Linked DNA regions of Homo sapiens: region 2 is linked to region 1. Evidence: promoter capture Hi-C in 16 types of primary human blood cells and fetal thymus (Javierre and others, 2016). All regions are on one chromosome and are shown on one strand. The core of a region is centred on a gene start or on the middle of the fragment in contact, and the rest is flanking DNA. Distances in the headings are between cores, read along the strand shown. Region 1 holds the start of DNAI7 (dynein axonemal intermediate chain 7). Region 2 has its middle 7.3 kb from the start of ITPR2.

Region 1 (4,438 bases), core at 795-3,294:
AGCCTAGGTGACAAAGCGAGACAGTCTCAAAAAGAAAAAAAAAAAAGAAAAAAAATTCATACGTTGAAATTCTGATCCCCAGTACTTCAGAATTTGATCTAATTGGAGACAGGGTCACTGCTGATTTTATTAGTTAAATTAAGATGAAGCCATACTGAATAGGGTGGGCCCCTAATCCAATATGATTTGTGTCCTTATATAATAATAATTTTAATATACTCAGATGGAGAATGCCATGTGAAGAATGAAGTTTTGTTGCCACAAACCAAGAAACTACTAGAAGCCAGGAAAGGTCTGAACAGATCTCTCCCTAAGGCCCTCAGAGGTATCACAGACCTGCTGACACTTTGATCTTGGACTTCTAGTCTCCAGAACTACGAGACAATAAATTTCTTTTCTTTAACCACTCAGTTTGTGGCAATTCCTTACTTGGCAGACTTAGGAAACTAATACAGTAGATTTGGAGTTGAGTGGGTTCCTGGAATCTGCATTTTTAACAAGTACTCCGGGTGCATTAGAAATAAATGTTCCATGGGCCACACTTTGAGAAACATTGGGAGAAGGATCTAAGAAGAAGAAGAAACTCAGGTAACAAATTGGAAGGTAACAAGTAAGTGCTTACTGTTCCCCCAATTTATTAGCAATTATAAATTGACTTAAGGTCCATTTGCATTCCGCCAGGAATGCTCTCCACTCCCTATTTCTTTTTTTCTCTTTTTTTTTTGAGACGGAGTCTCGCTCTGTCACCCAGGCTGGAGTGCAGTGGCACAATCTCGGCTCACTGCAACCTCCGCCTCCCAGGTTCAAGCGATTCTCTTGCTTCAGCCCCCTGAGTAGCTGGAATTACAGGTGCGCGCCAACACGCCCGGCTAATTTTTGTATTTTTAGTAGAGACTGGGTTTCACCATGTTGACCAGGCTGGTCTCGAACTCCTGACATCGTGATCTGCCCGCCTCGGCCTCCCAAAGTGCTGGGATTACAGGGGTGAGCCACCGCGCCAGGCCTCCACTCCCTATTTCTTCCCACCATATGTGGAAAACTCGTATTTATACTTTAAAACAGGTTGAAAAGCACCACTCTCCTTCCCTTGTTTCCCCTCACTGAAATTTCATCATTTCCAACTGTGTGTTACCCCATTTTAGATGCTTCAATTGTTACAGTTGTAAAGCTGTATTGTAATTAATTTGTTTAATCTGTATCCTATAAGCAGAGTTGTCGTCATGTTCTTCTTGGTATTCTTGGCTTCTAGCCCAGTGCCAAGTACAAAGAATGCACTCCACATTTTTCCCTTAATTAATGAATTAAATAAGTAATTACATTCTCCACTTCCTCTGGTTTTAATTATAGAAAATGTCTTGATGGAAACCACATTTAAGAAAATCAGAGATACTCTCATAGCTACATGTTGGCCTGTCTCCTTGCTGAAAACATGGCAGTTGAGGAGTGCAGAAAAACAAAATGAGAAGCCTTATCATATTTAACTAATGCAGGATGAGAACCTTGAATCACAAAACAATTCATATTCCCACAAAAGACGACATAAAATATTTTTTCAAAGCAGAGTAAATTGCATTAGCTTTTAATTAACTGCTGGAGAAGTACTAAAACATTTCCGCCAAGTTGCAATAAGAAAATTTAGTGGGAACGTCTATCACTACTGAAAGTTACTAGGTTGGGACCAATTTTCAAGCTTAGCAACATTCGAGATCAGGATACCGTGTGACAGCTTTGACCATCTCCCGTTTGCAGAAACTGGTTTGGGACTCCTACCTGTCCGCCTGGTCCAGGTAAGGAAAGCCATTGCTGAGAAGAGGGCCGACCCACCCCAAGGTATGAGTTATTTCCCAAACCGACCCGCTTCGCTGTAAAATATGACTGGCTCTTGATTACATTATTTAACACTGGTGAAGCAGAATCAGTGGTCGCCCCTCCACCTGTCTGCCTCATTTGCCTTGCTCACCATTAAGAGTCAAGCTCCACTGCAGTAGTCCGCAGAGTCGGAGCAGAAATTGTGTGGACAAACGCTCCCGGGTTGCCCGGACGACAGGCCCCGCCCACTTGAGCTCCAGGAAAAGAGCGCAGCCGCGCGGAGGCTCTTCCGGCCGGCGCCCCGCCCCCTTTACTGACAGGTTGCCCACCTCCCCCAACGCCACCCCGCTTCGCAGTAGACGGACAGAGGAGTCGTAGCGGTCGAGGCTTTTGCGGCTCCGGCGTGCCGGAAAGTGCGTGAGTGCCGCCGCCGGGGAGTTTTGTTCCATTTCCCGGATCCTGGGGTCTGGAGGCGAAATATGCTCTGGGCGAGGACCACCGGGTGTGGGAAGAGGGTTCTGAGCGTCTCCTGACGTTGACGGTTTATTTCCTAGAGTGTGTTGGGTCTTTCTGTGAGGGTTTCGAGAAGGAAACAGGCATGCGACTGGTTCATGCAGCGGACACCCGGTGGGAGGCCTGGGCCTCTGCGGTTTAATCCAGCAGGGGGATGGGGCTCATTCCGCAATTTAAAGAGAGAAATAAGTTGGCTCCAGAGGGTTGGTTATTTTAAGATTAATGACCTTCGGATTCTTCTTTCTGCTCTATTGTTTACTTTCTGTGCAGCGTACGCGTCCTTTTTCCTAAGAGCGCCCTAAACAAGAATTGAAAATGAAGCAATTCCTGGCTAAAATATTCCTTAACATGAAGATCGCTGAGGCCCCAAAGACTCATTAGTTTCCCGAGGTCACAGACTAATTTTACTAACCACACAACCTTTAGAATTTCAGTCTCCTCCCACATGAAGAAACGCCGGCACCTTACACCGACAGGAAAACTACAATTAAGTGAGGCTGTTCTCCTCAAGCCCGACTGAGTTCTCTGTAATTGTAGGGCATACCTACACCCTGTTTTAGCATTATGAGACCTGAAATACTTTTAAATTACTGGCACCATTTCTCATCTCTGAATTATAAGTTTATAATGCTCTATCCCTTCCAGTGTTATTGACTACATGCATTATTCATAGATAAGTAGTAGGACTAAGCTAGTCTTTGTGGGTTAAAGTGTTATTATCCCTATTGTAACCTGTAACTATTATAGGTTGTGTAATAGTTATTAGCATTTTACATCCATATCCTGGTAGCAAGATAAAAACATTTTAATAGCGACTTCGTACAGAGTTCTTACTCAGTTTACCATAGCTGTTTGATATGAAAGTTAAGGCTTCCTTTTAAATTAGTTTCAGTAAAACTAATGTTTAATGATAAAACACCTCAGTCAACTCAAGTTAGGATTCATCGGGGTAAGGAGATAGTTCAGTAATCCCAAGTTACCTTAAAATAGTGGGCTTTTAGAGGAAAGGCTTTACTGAAGCTCTCACTGTATCTACCCCATGGGGAACAATGATTAACAACTTTGGCCACCACATAACCCCCAGTAAAATGACAATTTTCCATTAGCCTGGAACTGGAACTGGTTAAGTCCTAACTCCTTAGCCTAGAATGACAGGGGGAAAAAACTATCAATGGGGACTGCAACCGCTGTCTCATCCAGCGCACACATCCAAGTTTTCAGAATAATAGGGGGCTTCTCTTAGTCCTTAACTCTTGGCTCTTTACTTAAAACAGTAACCTCCATGACTTCATGCAGAGTTCAGGAGCAGCCTCAGGGCCCTGCTGAACTCAAAATTGTTTATTCACTACATTGTGAACCCAAGGAGACCTATTTCTCTTAGTGGCTAAAGTAAACCTAAATGCTTCAAGGTCAACTGCATAAAGATAAACTGCATTGCCTGGTGTGGTGGCTCACGCCTGTAATCCCAGCATTTTGAGAGGCCAAAGTGGGTGGATCACGAGGTCTGGAGATGGAGACCATCCTGGATAACACAGTGAAACCCCGTCTCTACTAAAATAATACAAAAAATTAGCCGGGCGTGGTGATCAGCACCTGTAATCCCAGCTGCTCTGGAGGCTGAGACGGGAATCGCTTGAACCCGGGAGAGGGAGGTTGCAGTGAGCCAAGATCGCACCACTACACTCCAGCCGGGTCAACAGAGCAAGACTCCGTCTCAAAAAAAAAAAAAGATAAACTGCATTAATTCATATAAGTTAACATATCAAAGAAGAACAAATTTGCCATAGCCACACTAGTTACATTTTTGCTGGGCAAGTGTTTTATGATACATAATTTGTAAAAAGACCAACAACTAAAAAGGACAACTTAAGCCAGGTCCCTGAAAGCTTTCACAAGTTACAAATTGTGAATTAAATGAAGCTGTGCTGTTAGGCATTAAACAGGTTATAGTTTGCAATTCGAAATTACATCTATGTATATTTAATTTTAAATTATGTGAAAAGAACATGGTTCCGAAGAGGTGTTTTTTGTTTGTTTTGTTTTGAGACAGGGTCTCAAAATGAATTTTGCCCAGGTTGGAGTGGTGGAACAATCACGGCTCACTACAGCCTCAACC
Region 2 (4,438 bases), core at 1,030-3,529, 1.6 Mb after region 1:
CATCAGGGAGGGATGTGGTCTTCTCTTTTACTCCTTCCCTTACATCTTCACATTTTAGCTTCTTGGGTGTTGGGAAGGGAATGCAGGATCAGGATGAAATGAGCAAACATATCATTCTGACCTGGGTTTGCAATTTCAGTCCTCACGACTCCACTGCTCATCTAGTAAACTCTGACTGGTTGCAGAGGCCTTCTTGTCAGGTGGTTGTCAAATAGCAGTTCTATGCTGGGCATGTGGATGAAGATTTTAAAAGCTCTGAAAGACCTCGCAGTGCACAGTTCTTCGAAGTGGGAGAGCTTGCCCCAGCCTGACTTCTTCCCAACCCCTTCAGCTCCACCCCTGACACTATTATCCACAGGCCAACAAACCTCTTGGGTGGGTTCTAGCAAGTCTGGCCTCCTTTTGACCACATGAGATTTAGGCAGGGTCTGCTTCATGGTGTTGCAACCTGTGCAATAGCACAGGGCCCCATGATTGGTTTGATGTTTTGTTGGTGCTATCCTGAAATTCTTGATTATTTTTTAACAAGAGGCCCCACAATTTTATTTTTCACTGAGCCATGAAAATTTATGTAGGTAGTTCTGGATACAGGCATCCTTACCATGCCAAAGACTGGGCATGTAAACGGCTCCACTGATCCCCCTCATTCCATCAATGTTTCTATCAATCTCCAATTCCTTTTTCCCTACTCAGACAGATCAACAAATCTGACATACCAAATCACTTCCAATTAGAACATCCAAGGCCAGGCTCTTGTAGGTGAGAGGTGACAGTGTGCTGGCAGCCCTAGCTCGCTCTCAGCGCCCACTCTGGCTGCGCTTGAGGAGCCCTTCAGCCAGCCGCTGCACTGTGGGAGCCCCTCTCTGGGCTGGCCGAGGCCGGAGCCAGCTCCCTCTGCTTGCTGTGGGGTGTGGAGGGAGAGGCGCGGGCGGCAACCGCGGCTGCAGTGCACTTGTGGGCCAGCTCGAGTTCCGAGTGGGCATGGGCTGGGCGGACCCGCACCCGGAGCAGCCGGCCAGCTCCGGCCCCGGGCAATGAGGGTCTTAGCACCTGGGCCAGCAGCTGCGGAGGGTGCGCCGGGTCCCCCAGCAGTGCCAGCCTGCCAGCTCTGTGCTCGAATTCTCACCGGGCCTCAGCTGCCTCCCTGTGGGGCAGGGCTTGGGACCTGCAGCCCACCATGCCCAAGGAAAAATCTCTGCTACTCCTCACTAGGCCAAAAATGAACAACTCTGCTAATTCACCATAATCAATTTGTATTCAGTGTGGAGAGTTTTGTGAATTTGCTCTCTAATAAATATACATTAGTCACGTATACCTCCTGTTGTGAAATGTTGGACTAAAAATGTGTCCTTAAGGCCTCTGGGTCAAAGCTAAAAGGAAAAAGGTGGGCGGGATAGGGGAGAATGTAACCATCTCAGCCACTATCATCTTAACAGTCATGTGAGACAGATCCTGTGGCCATTTCCCCTATCCCCAGCCACCTTTCCCCCATAGTGTAACAGCCCAATGGGGTTAACCCCACCCCCAACTCCAAGCATGGTTCTTAACTAGGCTAAACCAGTGTTTCTCAAGCTTTAGTACACATAAGAACCGCCTGGAGAACTTGTTAAAACACAAATCCTTGGGCCTTAGCTCCTGAGATTCTGATTTAGCTTGTCTTGGTGGGGACTTACTAACATTCCTGAAGGGGGTGATTGTATGTCGGTAGGGGTTGGGGAGAAGAGGTTGAAACAAACCTTGGCTAGTGGCTCAGAAAATGATCTGTTTTTAATTTTTATTTTGAAATAACCTCAAACTTACAGAAATAATCTCCAATTTACAGAAAAGTTATAAGAATACCTGTGACCTAAATTCAGTAATTTTTATAATTTGCCACATTTGTTTTATCACTGCCTTTACACACGTACGCATGCAATTTATTTTCAGAACCATTTGAGTGTAGGTTGCATACATCATGCCCTATTGCCTTTTAATACTTCATGTATACCTAAGAACAAAGATATAGCCACAGAACAACCATCGAGTTCAGGAAATTTAACTCTGATATACCACTGTCTCAATAGTGTCTTTTACATCATTTTTTTCTTCCAGGACAGAATCCTATTTAGAATTACATATAGCATTCAGTTTTCATGTTTTTTTTGTCTCTTTTAATCTATAACAATTCCTTAGCCACACTTTGGCTTCAGTGACATTGACATTTTTTAAGAATACAAGCCATCTGGCCAGGCACAGTGACTCACGCCTGTAATCCCAGCACTTTGGGAAGTCGAGGCGGGCAGGTCACTGGAGGTCAGGAGTTTGAGATCATCCTGGCCAACATGGTGAATCCCCGTCTCTACTAAAAATACAAAAATTAGCTGGGCGTGGTGGCAGGCACCTGTAGTCCCAGCTACTGAAGAGACTGAGGCAGGAGAATTGCTTGAACCCAGGAGGTGGAGGTTGCAGTGAGCTGAGATCGCGCCACTGCACTCAGCCTGGATGACAGTGCAAGACTCTGTCTCAAAAAAAAAAAAAAAAAACAGAAAAAAAAAACAGAAAAAAGAATACAAGTCATTTACTTATAGGCTGTTCCATAATTGGATTTGTCTTGTATTTCACACTTAGATTTGATGAAGCATTTCTAGCCAGAATACTACAAAAGTGATTTTGTGTTCTTCCCAGGGCACCCTAACCTTAGGCACACGATGTATAGCTATATCTGCTCTTTGTTGACAGTGTCAGTTTTGATCACTCTCAGAGTGTTGTCTAGTGGACAGGAATTTAAGAATAATCCCAAACCAGATCTGTTTTGAAGATGTGGCCCAGAAGAAACAATCTTAGCCTGGGAAAACTCTGGAAATGCAGGCCAATCTCCAGGCAACAAAAAGTCTGACATTCATCTCAAAAATATTGTCTATCACATCTTTTGACCCTTAACCTCTCTGTTTCCAAAGCCAGAGTTTGACATCAATCTACTGTGTTTCCCTACCTGCAGGAGACAAATATAAGCTTTCCATGTGGTGCCTTTGAAGTTCTTCTCACTAGATTAGATCTGAGAGTCAAAGACTTCCCTCCCCATGACTGACACACACACACACGCACACACACATGCATGCACACGTTCTTCTCTCCTGCACTGGGTATGTACGGCGTGAGACGCAACAGAGCAGTAGCTCATTCCAAAACACTCACATCTCCAACAGCCCAACTGTTTCATATCCTTGGTCTGGGAGAAAGATTTTTAAGCATTGTATCCCTTGTGGTCAAATATTTCCTTTCAAAATTTGCATCTTGGTCTTACTGATGGTATTTCGATGCCTCCACTGAAACTCCCAACTTCACATCCCATTAAAATATTCTTCTGAATATTATATATATTCACCATAATCATATGGTGAATATTATATATATATATTATTTGAGGGTCACAGTTCTTAGAAGTATTTACACTACTTGCTGCTGAATCGCTTATGGCTTGATCTGACCCTAATGTCATAATTCTGTAAGGGCTTGGAAATGAAAAAGAGGAGAGGTGTTGTAATTAGAAGTATTTTATGAAGAACTGATACAACTGATACCATTTGGTTCTAAGAACCATGATCAATTAGAGCTGAGAATCATCAAAATATTGAAGAAAAGAGAAAATGGCCCAGTCTCTATAACAGAAAAGAATGGGGAGTTTTAAGAAAAAAATGAGCCAGTCACTGTGGTTCACACCTGTAATTCCAGTTCTCTGGGAGGCCAAAGTAGGCGGATTGCTTGAGCCCAGGAGACCAACCTGGGCTGCATGGCGAAACCCCATCTCCACCAAAAATACAAAAATTAGCCAGGCGTGGTGGTGCATGCCTATAGTCCCAGCTACTCAGGAGGCTGAGGCGTGAACCCGGGAGACAGAGATTGCAGTGAGCCAAAATCACGCCTCTGTGCTCCAGACTGGACGGCAGAGTAAGACCCTGTCTCAAAAAAAAGTATGCATATCTAAAATCTTGCCTACTTCAATTTGCAGTGATTCTTCCCCAAATACAATTTAATGTTCCCATGTAGATGTCAGAAAGCATTTATCAGGCACTTAAATGAATCCCATACCTGTATGCCACAATAGTTAAGGACACAAGTATTGCATAGACCTGGGATGAGTTACTAATTCACAATTTACTCTCTACCAGGCTTTATGCAAATACATAACCTCTGGGGCCTCGTTTTACTTATCTGTAAAATGAGGACAATAATGGTATCTATCTCATGTGGTCTTTGTGAGGTTTAAATTAGAAGTTACATTTAAGGGGCTTGATGTGGTGCCTGGCATAAAGTGCTTAATAACCTTTCATGTTTTTTGTTTTGTTTTGCTGTTTTTTAGAGAGAGGATCTCACTCTGTCATCCAGGCTGAAGTGCAGTGGTGCAGTCATAGCTCACTGCATCCCAGAATTCCAGGGTCAAGCAATCCTTTGGCTTCAG

The links. Contacts are between HindIII fragments. The CHiCAGO score rates a contact against its expected background, and 5 or more counts as called.
Region 2: a contact is called between a fragment that was not itself captured here and the fragment with the promoter of DNAI7 in region 1, in 1 of 17 cell types (fetal thymus). The highest score is 5.3, in fetal thymus.

What each region holds. Positions count from the first base shown.
Region 1 is chr12:25,193,116-25,197,553 of GRCh38, forward strand. It overlaps DNAI7 (dynein axonemal intermediate chain 7), which reads right to left and starts at 2,045. Exons shown (of 16, transcript NM_018272.5): 1 at 1,961-2,045. The coding sequence starts at 1,963. ETFRF1 (electron transfer flavoprotein regulatory factor 1) reads left to right here and starts at 2,122. Exons shown (of 3, transcript NM_001001660.3): 1 at 2,122-2,222. RefSeq lists an enhancer at 2,363-2,482. The HindIII fragment of the contact is 2,518 bases long and covers 1,689-4,206 here.
Region 2 is chr12:26,838,262-26,842,699 of GRCh38, forward strand. No RefSeq gene overlaps it. Among named protein-coding and RNA genes, the nearest start is that of ITPR2, 7.3 kb to the left of the region's middle. The HindIII fragment of the contact is 1,419 bases long and covers 1,571-2,989 here.